2 separate regions of the Homo sapiens genome follow, and region 2 is linked to region 1. The links are contacts of gene promoters, found by promoter capture Hi-C in human tissues and cell types (Jung and others, 2019). All regions are on one chromosome and are shown on one strand. Each heading gives the region's core, a stretch centred on a gene start or on the middle of the fragment in contact. The rest is flanking DNA. Distances are from core to core; before and after follow the strand shown.

Region 1 (7,914 bases), core at 1,962-4,461:
GGATCCAGTAGTTCCTTTCCCAGATCCTAGAGCCTTGTGGAAAACATCAGTCCAATATCTCAGGCCCTGTCACCTTCTGGCAGAATTATTGATATAAATCACCTATTTAGACTGTGATATTACCTCTCCTTTGACTTCACCCCCTTGGTCCTACAGCCTACCTTACTTCCCCCTCTCCAACCCCCTCCCCCCACCGGCAATTACCAGCACTGTCTACTTGCTGAGATTTCCCTTTGGTCTGCTAGTCTACGCCTCTTAGAAGAGTCTGTAGTTGAGTCTGTCTCCTTTCAAATGACTTCCAGTCTGTCCTACCCATCAGAGTTAACAGAACCATCCAATCACTGTGACAACCAACAGTACCTCCAAACATTTTTTCAAGCATCAGCTAGGGAAACCCCTAGCTCTGTTGAGAATCACTGGAAGAGAAGACATAGTTTCCAGTTGTATGGTGGGCTGCAGATGGGCAGTCCTGAGCCAGTTAGGCATGACACATGGTACTAGCTAACCCCAAAGCTGACTTCAAGCAATGCAGAAGTTAGAGCAGCTGAAGGAGGAAATAGAAGCAAATAGATAAATATTTTTTAAATAAGACAAAGTGTGAAAGCACTTTTAAGACAGTTTAGCACCATACTAAAATTATTATCACCACTTTGTTTAGTACTATTTTGTTTAGTACTATGTTGTCTTGGGCAGCCCTTGTGAATAAACAAAAACATCAGAACCTGGCAGAGCCGTAAGCAACAGCCCACTTCCCAAAACGGGGTGAACAGCTGTAGACCAATCAGCGGTGTTGGGTGTTTCCGGCTACTCGATGTGGACATGATTGTGAGTCAGAACCAATTCAAACTTTAACCAGAGCTCCCACTCTGCCAGACACTATAATAGAAGGTGGGGTACAAAGAAGACCAATAGGCTAGGATGCTCAGTCTCATCAGCTTTACAGATAAGCCTCACTATTACCTCTAAACAAAGTGGAAGCCAGTCCTGGCAGCGCACACCTATAACCCCAGCATTTTGGAAGGCTGAGGCGGGCAGATAGCTGGAAGCCAGGACTTTGAGACCAGCCTGGCCAACATACTGAAACCCCATCTCTACTAAAAATACAAAAATCAGCCGGGCATGGTGGCACACACTTGTAATCCCAGGTACTTGGGAAGCTGAGGCAGGAGAATAGCTTGAATCCAGAAGGCAGAGGTTGCAGTGAGCAGAGATCGCACCACTGCACTCCAGCCAGGGCAACAGAGAAAGACTGTGTCTCAAAATAACAACAACAACAAAGTGAAGTGATACTTCACTTTGGAGCTCTCTTTTTCCTAAACTTGGATTCTTAAAATGTTTCTAAGCTAGCAGTTTTGTAAGAACTTTTTTCCTTAAAAATCTGGCACATTTAAAGTATTGGAAATTCTGGGCTTTTAAAAATATTGGGATTATACCAGTGCTTATTTTTCTCTATAAACTAGTCAGAACAGAGGCCCTTTAATTAGAGATACTATAGTGGGATTTATTAATACACTCCAGAAGTAGGGAAATATTTCATATTTACAAAGGGAGACATAAAGCCTGTTCTAAGTTACAGACACACAGACACATAAAGAGGTTATTGCTTCTGTCTTACAACTTCAATCTCAGGTCAAAAGTAAACACAAAACCACAAAAATTCACCAGTTCTTCTGCTTGAGCGGCCTTTATGTTAAAACAAACAAACAAAACCTTACTAGCCCACATCTCAAATAGCTGTCCTCCTTCCCTCTCAGTGGACACAAAAGTAATTAATTAATTTGAGCTCACAAACAATAAACAAAAAGACTTACAAACTCGCTTCTCTGTCACCTCTCTTATTTATTTATTTGAACCCCTGGCCTCAAGTAATCCTCCCACCTCAGCCCCGAGTGGTTGCGATTACAGGTTTGAGCCACTGCACCTATCTACCTCTCTACCAATGAGACTAGACGTCCATCATCCAACAGATACCACCAAATGGTTAGACCACAAAACCAAACTCCCAATCATTGCTGCTATCAATGTATCAGTAATGTATAAGTTATACCTGAATAACTTATCAGGAATGTACAAATCAGAAATGAAAACACAATCTTTAAAAATCAATTATAAAGGAAAAATATATAACCACTTGGGTTTTCTGTAAGAGCAAATAAAAAACATGCCTGGCCTTAAACAACCCATGATGTATACATTTCTTTCGCCAGATAGTTTGATTCATCACATAAATCCAGTTGGGCATCTCTGTGGAAACTTAAGATTTCCAATAATATAGTATAATTATCAAAAACCTAAAATCATGTCTCTAATGTGAACATAAAATATATACATGTCAAACTTTTATTCAACTCATTGGTTAGTGAGGGAACCGATGACTTTAAAACCAATACAGAATATTAGAGAAGCTAGGCATATGTTAATAAAGAAATGTTAGGACAGAATGCAGGGTTAGATACAAAACTGACTAATGTGTTGCAGAACAATAAATCATAACCTGTGTTGGTATCTGGTACAACAAAAAATTATTTGCATCTCTACCAAACCAAAATCTCTACCAAAGTTAACCTTTGCCCCTACAGAATTGTAAAACAGCCCAGTCAATATAATAAAGTCAAGTCCAGAGCAGCACTGAAAGAGCATCCAGTAAATAAATCTCTTTTGCCTATTTCCAAGTTTTAGTCATTTTTTCCACAGAAATGAGATATTGCAAATATTGCACGGGACATAGATGCACTAAAAAACTATTAATTCATCTGAAGTTCATACTGTATTTTATCCGGCAACCCTAACCACGAGTTAACCAAAACTTTACCAAGTCTGTACAGTTCTTTTGCCAACACGGTATCTCTTAAATCTGTTCCTTAGCTTCATCTTTCCCTAGATAATAAATATCATATTAAGCGCTGTTTCTATTGCACGACTATTCTTCATATTTACCACTGGAGGGCGCACAGAACTCGTAGTATACTAGATAAGAGGTCATGAAGAAACCACCTGAGCGTTTCTGCATCTCAACCACAAGAGGCCAGTACAGGAACCTCAGATTTTGCAACCAGACTGTTTACTCGCTCCCTAAGCAGCCATGCGCAGGCGCGAAACTCCTCCCCAGGCCAGACCCGGCCTGCGCATGCGTTCAAGTGAGCGCGCAGACGCTATTGGTAAGACTCGCGGGAAAAGAAAGGGTGAGCGCGGCTGGAAGCGCGCATGCGCTGTGGCTAATGCCGTAGGCTCCTTCAGGGCTGAGCCATCCCGCGTGTCTTGCGCTCGGTGGAAATGCCCAGCCGAGGGACGCGACCAGAGGACAGCTCTGTGCTGATCCCCACCGACAATTCGACCCCACACAAGGAGGATCTAAGCAGCAAGGTGAGTGTGAGACGCGACGAAAAGGCTCCTGGACTCGGGACCGGGCGCCACTGGACCCTGAAGGTGGTCCGCAGCGGGCAGCGTGGGGCCTGCCTGGGCCTCGGCTTTGCCCTGCTACTTTGCTCTTTTTATTCATAGCACTTGACAGCCACAGTTAGTCCTTTTATTTTCTGAAAACAGTTGCGAAAAGGGAGATCTTGAAATTTGTCCCGAGACTGGACCCAGGTGACAGTGGGGCGGAGTTTTGGTTGGGTGTTTTCCTCCCTAGTCTTTTTAAACTTTTGGAAATACCGCCCACCCCAAATCTGTTCCATCAAAGATATTCTCCATCCAGTTAACCATGCCAGCAACCCGGGGTCCATCCTTGACCCCCATCATGGAAGCCTATCAGTTCTACCTTTGAAGCTCATTTCAAATATGTCCCTTTATCACCGTGAACACTCTTACCACCCCAAATAAGCCACCGTCATCTGCTATCGGGACCCCTGCCCCCGGCAAGGCCTTCCTAAGCGGTCTCTCCTCATCCACCTGTTAGCTGCTGCTTCTCCGTTAACCAGAGCAATGGTCCTAAAACACGCATTGGGTTGTCACTCATACCAAACTGGGGGAGAGAGGAAGCCAATATAATATAAGCCTTAACTGCCATAAACAAACAACCTTTAAAGATAAATGGGGGTGGCGAGGGTTATAGCCCTTCAGGTATTACATGTCCTAGATTCTACTTTGGTTCTGTCCCAAACTTACAATGACATCTTGGGCAAGTCTCTTTAATCTTTCTGTATCAGTTACCTTCTTTGAAGTAAAGTGAAATGTACACCTGTCATTCCTAAAATGGGAAAGCCCTGTATAAATGTTAAGTCTCAAAGAATGTTTACAAATTTGGCCTTGGAATTCAACCTCATTACTACAGCTCTGCCAACGGGGGAGACAGAAAGGTGCACATTCATGGGGATTGGGGGTGAATTTTCAAAAGACACACAGCCCATTCTGATTACCACCATAGCAAGCCACTTACGCATACTGGTGGTTACAGATCCCTGAGGTGTGTGTGAGGTAGCACAAATATGATAAAAGCTGCTTTTAGAGGCTCTTGTGATACTATGTAATCAGTCATGTTCACAAAATAAATAGAGTTAAAAAGAAACTTAGTTTTCACTTAGTTGAGCCCTCCCCTACAAATAAATGAAGCCCAGGCCAGCATGGTGGCCCAGGCCTGTAGTCCCAGCTACTCGGAGGCTAAGGTGTGAGAATCGCCTGAGCCCGGGAAGATCAAAGCTGCAGTGAGCCGTGATCGCACCACTGCACTCCAGCCTGGGTAACAGAGCAAGACCCTGTTTCAAAAAAAAAAAAAAAAAAAAAGCCCAGTTCAACAGTGCCAGCTCTATGCTAGTCATTGAGATAAAAAGAGGGAAAAATACCAAGATGGAACATGATAGGTCTTACTGTCCCCAAATAGGGCATTGCTTGATTTGAATGTTTGACTGCAGCACTTAGTACATAAAATCATGAAAATATTGAAAAAAGTAACCCACCCCTCATTCAATTTGCTTTTTTTTAAATCTAAATCACAACTTAATTTTCAATCTAAATCACAACTTAATTCCTTTTGGTGTATATCATATATATATATTTTTTAAATTATTTATTTATTTATTTTTTTGAGACGGAGTTTCACTCTTGTTGCCCAGGCTAGAGTGCAGTGGTGCAATCTTGGCTCACTGCAGCCTCCGCCTCCCGGGTTCAAGCAGTTCTCCTGCCTCAGCCTCCCGAATAGCTGGGATTACAGGCATGTGCCACTACGCTTGGCTAATTTTGTATTTTTAGTAGAGATGGGGTGTCTGCATGTTGGTCAGGCTGGTCTCGAACTCCCGACTTCAGGTGATCCGCCCGCCTTGGCCTCCCGAAGTGCTGGGATTACAGGCATGAGCCACCGCACCCGGCCTGGTGTATATCATATATTTTTAACAAAAGGTATAAACCTTGTTTAGTAACTGTAGTCCTTGGCATGATTGCTGGTTATGAACACGAAAATCCCTGTCTGGTCTTAATGGGTTACCTAACATTTTGCAAGTCTAATCACTGTTTTTTCTCCTCCAGCTTTTCCTGAACTGTACCCCCACACAGAGACTCCTGTTGAAAATGATCTGTATATTCACAAACTGCCCGTTTGGAAAACCAGTACATCATAGCCCCTTATCCCATCTCTAATTTTAAAACAACCCCTTAAGGGATTTTCATTGAGCATACTTTGAAAACATCTGACTTAAGGAGTTTTTCTTTATTTCAATAGATTAAAGAACAAAAAATTGTGGTGGATGAACTTTCTAACCTTAAGAAGAATAGGGTGAGTTATTATAGGAATTCTGAATAATATGTGGGAGGTTTATTTATGTTAACTATATATTAAAGTTATAAGAAGTATATATAAGATTTAATCATACTTTAATAAAATGTATAGTATTTCAGCATCTTTTAAAATTGCAAGTGTCTAGATTCTTTTTTTAAATGGATAGATCTCATAGCTGAAGATGTCTTTTTTCTATCATATGCCATTCACATTGCCTTTGCAACAAATGATACTAGTTGTATTTTGGTATCTTGGAGCTATAATCACTAATGATGTTTTATACCTGAATTTGATGTTTTCTTTTGATATAAACGAACTTTATATTGAGATGAGAAGAAACTTTTCTTTTAAATGAATGTGGATAATTATTGAACAAAAAAGGATACATTGCTTCCCCTCCCTCCAAAAAATTTTTACATAGATTTTCCTAAATGTGTAACATGGTTATTTAATGCCATTTCCATTAATATGTTACAAACAAGTAAGCTACTGCTTTGTGTATGGTTATAGTGTCAAATTGCATTTTAACATTCAGGAAGAAATGAGTTTGAGCTCTTAAAAGCTTTGTAAAGATTATGTAATAACTGGCTGGTTAGATATTTCTGATATTGTCACTTATGGAATATTAGAAGTTGAGGCACATACAAAAATTAGCCAGGCGTGTGCCTGTAATCCCAGCTACTCAGGAGGCCGAGGCACAAGAATCGCTTGAACCTGGGAGGCAGAGGTTGCAGTGAGCTGAGCACACCACTGCACTCCAGCCTAGGCTACAGAGCAGGACTCCTTCTCAAAAAAAAAAAAAAGAAGTTGAGGCAGAATTAATACAGACTTTCTCTAGAGGGCAAATTGGCAAAAAGTCTCAACAATTCAAAACTATAACACTTTGACCCAGCAGTTCCATTTATAGTAGTTGATACTTAGGAGAGAATCATGGTAGTGCACAAAGATTTAGTTACAAAGATAATCATCACAACCTTGATTTACAATAGCAAAGAGATGGTAACACCTTAAATGTCTAGTATTTGAAGCTGAGCAAATAAACTGTAATATATTATATCTATATAGCAGTAGGTATAATTTGGTCACCATAGCTTGCTTTGGCATTTTGGTGTTCTTGTAAAAGAACACTTACTGATAAGAAAAAGTATTCTCAATATATTGCTCATTGATAAAAGCATAAATCTGCAGGTACAGTAAGAACCTTTTTTGTTAAAATGGAGAGAAAATAGTTTCATTTCAGTAGTAGCAATTTCTGGTAGTTGGGCAGTGGGTGACTTTTATTTGTCTTTTTGCTTGTCTGTATTTGCTAAAGTATTGTACTGAATAGATTTTCAAGAATTAGTGATAATAGGGTTTAAGGATTTTAATATCTACTTTTTAGATCAAAATTTGATATTAGCCTAAATTATGTTTTCCAGAAAGTATATAGGCAACAACAGAACAGCAATATATTCTTTCTTGCAGACCGAACAGAAATGCTGTCTGAGAGCAAGAGTAAGTTTTTTCTTTTTTGGGGTTTTTGGGGGGTGCCTAAATTATACTCATCTGAGTGTTAAAATATATATCTAAAGATTAATGCAGCAGTTTGATTTTCTTCAAATTAGGCTTCCGAAGATGAGTCAACAGTTATATATATATGTGTATATATATATATATATATATATATATATATATATATATATATATATATTATAAATGTTTTAGAAAGCAATAGTTATTAACATGTGCTTTAGAATTTTAAACAGGTCTAAGTATGACAAACCATTACCACTTTCTACCTTTGTGACTTTGGGTGAAATACTTTAAGCCTCCAAGGTATTGTGGGATCTAAATAAGATGCTATGTTAAAAGTGCTTAGCCAAGTGCTTGGGCCAAAATCAGCACTCGGCAAAACAGAAGCTATTTTTCTAAAAGATAAACATTCTTTATTAGTAGCCTGTTGTTAATTATCATTGGTACTGGCACAGTGTGTGTGTTTATATGGTTTGATTTTGGTAAACAGCTTGTGTTGCCCTCTGAATTGCTAGGTAAAAGTCCAAGAATTTTTATGTTATTTAATATTTATTCTCCTTCCCTGCAACAGATATATTGGATGAACTGAAAAAAGAATACCAAGAAATAGAAAACTTAGACAAGACCAAAATCAAGAAATAGTCAACCTGATTTCACATAACAATGTGTGGCATTTGTTGTTCTGTAAACTT
Region 2 (6,827 bases), core at 2,474-4,973, 1.2 Mb after region 1:
TTTTTAGGATATAAGGTAATGTTATAACGGCCAAAAGTTAGAATACAGAATTTTCTATGCAGTATGATCTCAAGCTATTTAAAAAGCTCAGAAAAAGTAATAGAAGGAAATAAGCCAAAATGACATTAGCAGTTGTGGTTTATGAGAACGAGCATTGTTTTTCCTGCCTCCTTTTGTTACTTTTAAGATTTCCCCCCCATTATAAGTGGGAAACGTCTAAAACAGTAAAAAACATTCCATAGTTTTGAAAATCAAAGGAACCACATCTGTTAAGTTTTGAACTTGTAAATCTCTACTGTCTACTCTTCTAATATCCTGATTCTGGTTGTATAAGAACAGTAAGCACCATTACATTGAAAGAAAAGTATGAAAATAGGTTATGTATGAATTTGCACAGCTCCTGTTTATCAGCATTGTCTAATCATATTCACTGGTACCCTTAAACATCAAACTTTAAAAATTTAAAACTATGCTTGATATATCTCCCTAGTAAATGTTACATATTTCTCTGCCATATTAAAACATTGTAATCAATAGAGTTTAACATTTCTTGTTCAACTTATGTGTATTTTAAGGATGCATTATTATACTGCACTGTAATACAGTGATGCTGTAAGACAAGTGCTGGCACACTTTCCCTGAAAGGCCAAATAGTAAATATTTTCAGCTTTTGGGGTTCTCTAGTCACTACTACAACTTCTCAGTTCAGTGGTGGTAGCAAAATAGCTGCAAACAATAGGTAAATAGATGTGGCAGTCTTCCAATAAAACTTTATTTACAAAAAGAGGAGGTCCCTGCTGTAGTTTGCGTAGCCCTACACTAAAATATATTTATTGGTAAGTTCTCTCATGCCTTGATTGGTTCTGCTTTAACCAGTACTCTTAAGGGTGGGTTTGTTCTTTTGTGGATTTTTGTATCTTGTATCAGTTGACTGTTCTTCATGTCTCTACTTTAGCTATCCTCCTTCACTCTTACCTTCTGTATCCAGTTCTGCTTAGCTTTTTCAAAAAATTGTGGTTAAATATACATAACATAAAAATTACCACTTTAACCATTTTTAAGTTCCCTAGTTCAGTGGCATTAAATACTTCTGTTAGTTTTAGAACCCAGATGAATATGCTAATGTGTAAAATAAAAGTATGTAAGTTGTGAGTGAATAAAGTTTATGATCTCACTTTAGTGTAGTGATTTGGAGGACATCTATTTTTAGCAACTCAAAAACTGAGAATTAAGCTTGGAAGTAACTTTAAAGAACATTTAATTCCAGCTCATTTTACGTATTATATAAGCTGCCCGCAGATATTAAATGACCTAAACAAGTTCAGACAGTATTAGGACTTGTTTTGATTTTTTATTTTTCATCTATTAGCAGCAAACTAATTCAATTTATAGAGTTAATTTTTTTAGATTGAGGATTATAAGAGATCTTACAAACCCTTCTCCCCAGCTGCTGCTTTCTTCTCTTCTGTTACATACTCCCTATAGGTTGTTGTTATTCATCTCTACCTGAATACTGCCTTCACAAGGGAGTTCACTCCCTTAGAAGGCAGCCCATTCCGTTTTCATAGCTGTTTCATTTTTCCTTATGTGTGGCTGAAGTTTTTCATTAACTTCTACCTATATATGTTAGTTATTCTGAACAAGTTGTCTATAGTGGTATCAGAGTGATTGCAGTGACAGAATTCATATAGTATCTGTATTATTCCATCTAGACTGATATATTAAAGGATACTTGGCTGAAGAAATGAGTTATTGGAAAAACTAACAGAGTTGGATGTTATAGACTTGATCTCCCCAGATCCTAGTCTTCCCACCCGAGACAGCCAGACTGCCTTTTGGGTCAAACTTCTGAAGTTGTGCAAACGTATGGACAAATTACCATGAGCTGACAGGGGCAGCCTGACCATTTCCTCACATAAAGTGGCTTTTGTGCTTTTTACTTTGGTGTGCTATTAAATGAATTTGTGCTATAAAGTCCAGTCAAAACAGCAGCACTAATTGAATATAATCTCATCTTTGCTTTGACAGGATGCAGTTTTATCAAGGCAGACCAGTTTAGTTCTCTTATGTGCATTTTGGTTAGAAATTTATTATTGTTTAAGAATTACAGATATTATTCCTAAAATAGAGTGCTAACCACTGAGAGCATGAGGTGGCAGAGCAGGAAGAGTCTGGAACTGGGAACAAAGGATGAGCTTTGTAGGACTAATTCTGGTCCAGCCACTTAAGATTTATGTGACATTGGACATTCTGCTTGACTTGGATACTCTTAAAACAAAATTTTTTTTAAATTTAAAATTTAAATTAACATTTTCTTTCTTTTTTTAGAAATGGAATCTTGCTGTGTCACCCAGGCTGGAGTACATTGGTGCCATTATAGCTCACTGCAGCCTTGAACTCCTGGGCTCAAGCAGTCCTCTTGCCTCAGTCTCCCAAGTAGCTGGGACTGTAGGTGCATGCCACCACACTCTTCTAGGACTCTCTTTTATCTGTACACTGGGGACAATTAACCCACCTTAATTTACCTCATAGGGTTTTAATATGATAGAAAGTGAGAGTCCTTTTTTAGCAGTAAAGCCTTAAAAGATGTAAGTTTTTATTTTTAAATTCAACCAATGATTAGCCTTGGGGCAAAATCACTTGGATGATAACTAGAATTTGTCAATTTGTTAGACTTAACATTCATTCTCATATGCTATTTTACTATATGGTCAGCCACCATCAATTCAACTTTCTATCTAACAGGTTTATTAATCTGCCAGTTTGCTGGTGTTGATAGACGGTTGTTATCAGTCAGCTCACTATAAATTCAAAATGATACACTGATTTTAAAACAACCCTGAATTATCATCTGAAGGATCATTATTCTTAAATGAAGGCATAAAGACTAGCAAATCCTTTTGTATTGTGTTATTATTAGGCCTCATTTTTTTTAATCCCACTTGAAAAGACAGTTTTTCATTGTCTCATAGGTTTACCATACTATACTATGTGTTTTAAGAGTTATGCGAAAAAAAAAATAAGAAAGACTTGACCCCAGCCTTGAAGCTTTATAGTTTGGGGAGGTTAGGTAATATGAAATGTTATTTAACAAAATAAGACCATACAGTTGGTTTCAATTATTTTCCTCTGTTCATTTTGTAGTTCTTAGTAAGGATTTTTTTTTTATTTTCTTCCTTTCATTTGATAGTTTTTTATTTATAAGATTTTTGAACTGATGAAGATGAGTTTGCCTTGTTGCTCCTAATTACAGATTAGAAACTTTCTTGATTTCCCCTACCGATTAAGGCAAAATTAAATACTTCATCTGTACTTGCTAATAAAATACTTTTTGAAAAACACTTCTACCATAGTATTTGTCTCATGGCTTTAGTCATATTTCTCCTAGACCACAACCTTACTTTAGGGATCTTTATTGCTATTGCTTGGCATATAATAAGTGGTACAAGAAAAGGACAAAACTTAGTGATACCAGAGAATGCTAAAGAGTATAGAGAATCTGGTGGGGGCAAAGTCCTGTGAAACAATTGAAATGATCATTGATAGCTTAAGATTTAGGGAGAGGAAGGTTTTACACAGAAGGCATGATAGGTTAAAAAAAAAAAAGATGAGATAGCACTTATTTACAGGTCATTGAGTCTAGTCAATTACATTGGGGAATTATAAGGATTAAGTTAGGAATAAATAGTGTAAAACTAATTTATAGAGAACTGCATACCAGACTGAGGAGTATGAATTCCCCCTTTGGTATGGGGAAACTAATTTGGTCAGTGGGGTAAGCAAAGACAGTTCCTCTTTTCATGTTGCAGAAGTTGGCCCTGCATTTAAACTTAATGTAGATTTTGGAAGGTAGTCTCCTCATTTACCTCAGATATATATATTCAGAATATATATATTCTCAACACTAAAAAATTAAGTATTCATATAATAGCCTATAGGTAGAAACAGGCACCTTAATTCACACATTCTGTGCTCTAGCTGTTTTTTGTTCTTTATAAACACTAAGTGAATGCTTACTTTCATCCCTTTGGTCTGTTTGCCAGAAATCTTTTTCTGTTGCCATGCTTCCAGCTCTTACCCATCTTTCAGGTTTAGCTCAGATTCCACCTCATCTAAAAAAAAGCTTGACCTTATTAGACCACAGTGAAGTAGTTTTCCAAAGTCTGGATGTCATAGATCTATTCTTGTAATTCCTCATTTTATGTACATGTCTCCTACTTCTTCTAGACTGTAAATGATGTCTAACATGATGTCATACATGGCATGGGATTTTTCTTCTTTTTCATTAAGAAATTATTTTTTAAGACAGTTAAAGGCTAAAGTAGGGGAAGGAATGGGTAAAAGAAGAAACAATATGATGGTAAGATGATCTTAAAGGCAGCATTTAGAAAGGAAACGAGAGAGACAGTATAAGTTGGAGAAGAAGTAAAAAGGTGAGAAATAAGGATTTTCCTTCAGATTATCTTCTGTTATATCCTATTTGAATTGCTGAATATCATAACCATTTTATGTTTTTCTCTTCAGGGGAATCTGGAGGATTCATTTGGGTTATTAATAATTGTTGATGATAAGATTTGAAAGATTGCTATAATCCTATTTGTCATTAAAACTTAAATACTTCTCTCAAGGATTTCCTAGTTACTATATAGTTACCAAAAGCTATAGTTTTTAGCTTTTGAATTTTAATGAAAAATACATTATTGTGAAGAATTACCAGAAAGAATTAATTTAGGGAGAGAAAAGGGGGGTTAAGGCATGAATGATCTTGAGTAGTTTCTGCCTTGTGGAAAGTTTGAGGAGAATATTTGAGTATGTTTGTTCGCCAGACTGTTGAAGCGAATTCATTCTCAGATCAAAATCTGAGGTTTCAAATGCTGAAATAGGTAGTAATTTCTTTTTATCAGTTTTGACAGCTTATTTTGTGAGCTTATTTTTTAGGGCTGGCTTAAATTCTTTCCCCTATAGATAAAAATTAATTTCTTGTTTAAAAGCAAGTAAACATTTGTCTTTTTTTGCTAGCTTTGGCAATAACGTGGTCATTTTAATTTTTTTTCACTATGTGCCATAAGCTAAAAAAGTGTATATTTTACGTTATTTACATAGCTTTTAGGCAAAGCAAATACCATTTACTTGTGTGATAAATACATAGAAAGCTTATTCTGCAGTTTTTTAAAGTGACAAACTACCACTATCTGAAGTTTATTTGACCAACCATTTGCTGTAAATAATTGGTATGTTATTATCCACTGATTTTTTGACAGCTGGTTCAGTTTTTTCTTTGAATATTAGGTGGTGAGTATTGTTAAGCTGTGTTTAATGGTATTAGGTCAGGATAAGACCTAGAAAACTTGTTTGTACCTTATAAAAGTAATAACAAGCTAGTAAGTTAGAGAGCCAGTATAATGTAGCAGTAGTTTGGATTCAGAAAAATCCATCTTTGCCATTGTGTAACCTTGGAAAGCTTCTTAACCTCTGAGCCTCTGTTTCCTAATCTGTGAAATGGGGACAGAGGTAGTCATTTTTTTGAACAAATAACAAATTTGTTGAGCTTCTAAGTATGTACCAGAAATCATACTATGTTTTGGATAACAGTAGTACCTCTGTCATAAAATCCTTGGAGGATTAAGTTAGAATGCATGTAAAACACTTAGCACAGTGTGTAGAATATAAGTAAGTGATCAATATATTGTAGTTATTATTACTAAAACATCCCAAATGTATTTTTTTTGGAGACAGAGTCTCGCTCTGTTACCCACTCTGGAGTGTGGTGGCACGATCTTGGCTCACTGCAACCTCCACCTCCCGGGTTCAAGCTATTCTCCTGCCTCAGCCTCCCAAGTAGCCGGGATTCAGGCGCCTGCCACAACGTCTGGCTAGTTTTTCTATTTTTAGTAGAGATGGGGTTTCACCGTGTTGGCCAGGCTGATCTCGAACTCCTGACCTCAAGTGATCCTCCTGCCTCAGCCTCCCAAAGTGCTGGGATTATAGGCGTGAGCTGCCACGCCCAGCTTCAAATGCATTTTTAGAAGTTGTCTAAGAGCAAAAACAGTTTCAGGGAATAATTATGTATCAGGATATGTCATTAAATATTTTAATGATAAAGCTATGTGTTTTTAAAAAACATTTGTGTGACATTCAGTATTTAAAAGTTTGGTTAATCATAGCATTTTAGTGTTACACTAGTTTAGTTAATTAAGATTTTTAATGCATACTTATTGGTAACGTTTTTCTTTTAATAGTCTTTATGATTTGTAGAATTTGATGTATACAGTCTTGCCTTGTCCTTCTGTATATGTTAAGAGATTGGTTCCAGGTCCCCCACAGCTCAAGTCTCTTATGTAAAATGGCATAATATTTGCCTATAACCTACATATATCCTCCCATATATTTTAAATCATCTCTAGATTACTTATAATACCTAATAAAATGTAAATGCTATGTAAATAAGTCTTATACTATCTTTTGAATGTACGTTTTTTTATTTTTTTTCTGAATATTTTTTATCCGTGTTGGTTGAATCTATGGATGCAAAGGGCTGACTAGGATATGTAAACCTAGATCACTTTAGAAATAATAACTACAACTACTGTCAGTGGAGTCTTACTCTCTGCCAGACATGTTCTAAAGATATTGAATGTATTGAGTCAACTGATCCTCACCACAACCCTATGAGGGAGGCACTGTTTTATTCCCTTTCTCAGATGAGGAAACTGGATCACAGAAAGGTTAATTAATTTACCCAAGGTTACACAACTATAGTATTACAGCCAGGATTCAAGAACTTGTGCACTTGATCTTAACTACTGTGTAGTAGTTAATTGCTATCT

Evidence for each region. The method cuts DNA at HindIII sites, captures the fragments that hold promoters and counts their contacts. A contact is called where the count stands out against the background at its distance.
Region 2: a contact is called between a fragment that was not itself captured here and the fragment with the promoter of ASNSD1 in region 1, in 1 of the 25 tissues and cell types used here (lymphoblastoid cells).

The regions. Positions count from the first base shown.
Region 1 is chr2:189,658,248-189,666,161 of GRCh38, forward strand. ASNSD1 (asparagine synthetase domain containing 1) reads left to right here and starts at 3,212. Exons shown (of 6, transcript NM_019048.4): 1 at 3,212-3,363; 2 at 5,654-5,707; 3 at 7,129-7,204; 4 at 7,794-7,914. The coding sequence starts at 7,886. It overlaps ASDURF (ASNSD1 upstream open reading frame), which reads left to right and starts at 3,212. Exons shown (of 4, transcript NM_001353493.2): 1 at 3,212-3,363; 2 at 5,654-5,707; 3 at 7,129-7,204; 4 at 7,794-7,914. The coding sequence starts at 3,274. The coding sequence ends at 7,864. RefSeq lists an enhancer at 3,270-3,459. The HindIII fragment of the contact is 8,906 bases long and covers 1-7,839 here.
Region 2 is chr2:190,887,875-190,894,701 of GRCh38, forward strand. The region is part of intron 1 of GLS (glutaminase); the gene reads left to right. Among named protein-coding and RNA genes, the nearest start is that of GLS, 10 kb to the left of the region's middle. The HindIII fragment of the contact is 3,167 bases long and covers 2,141-5,307 here.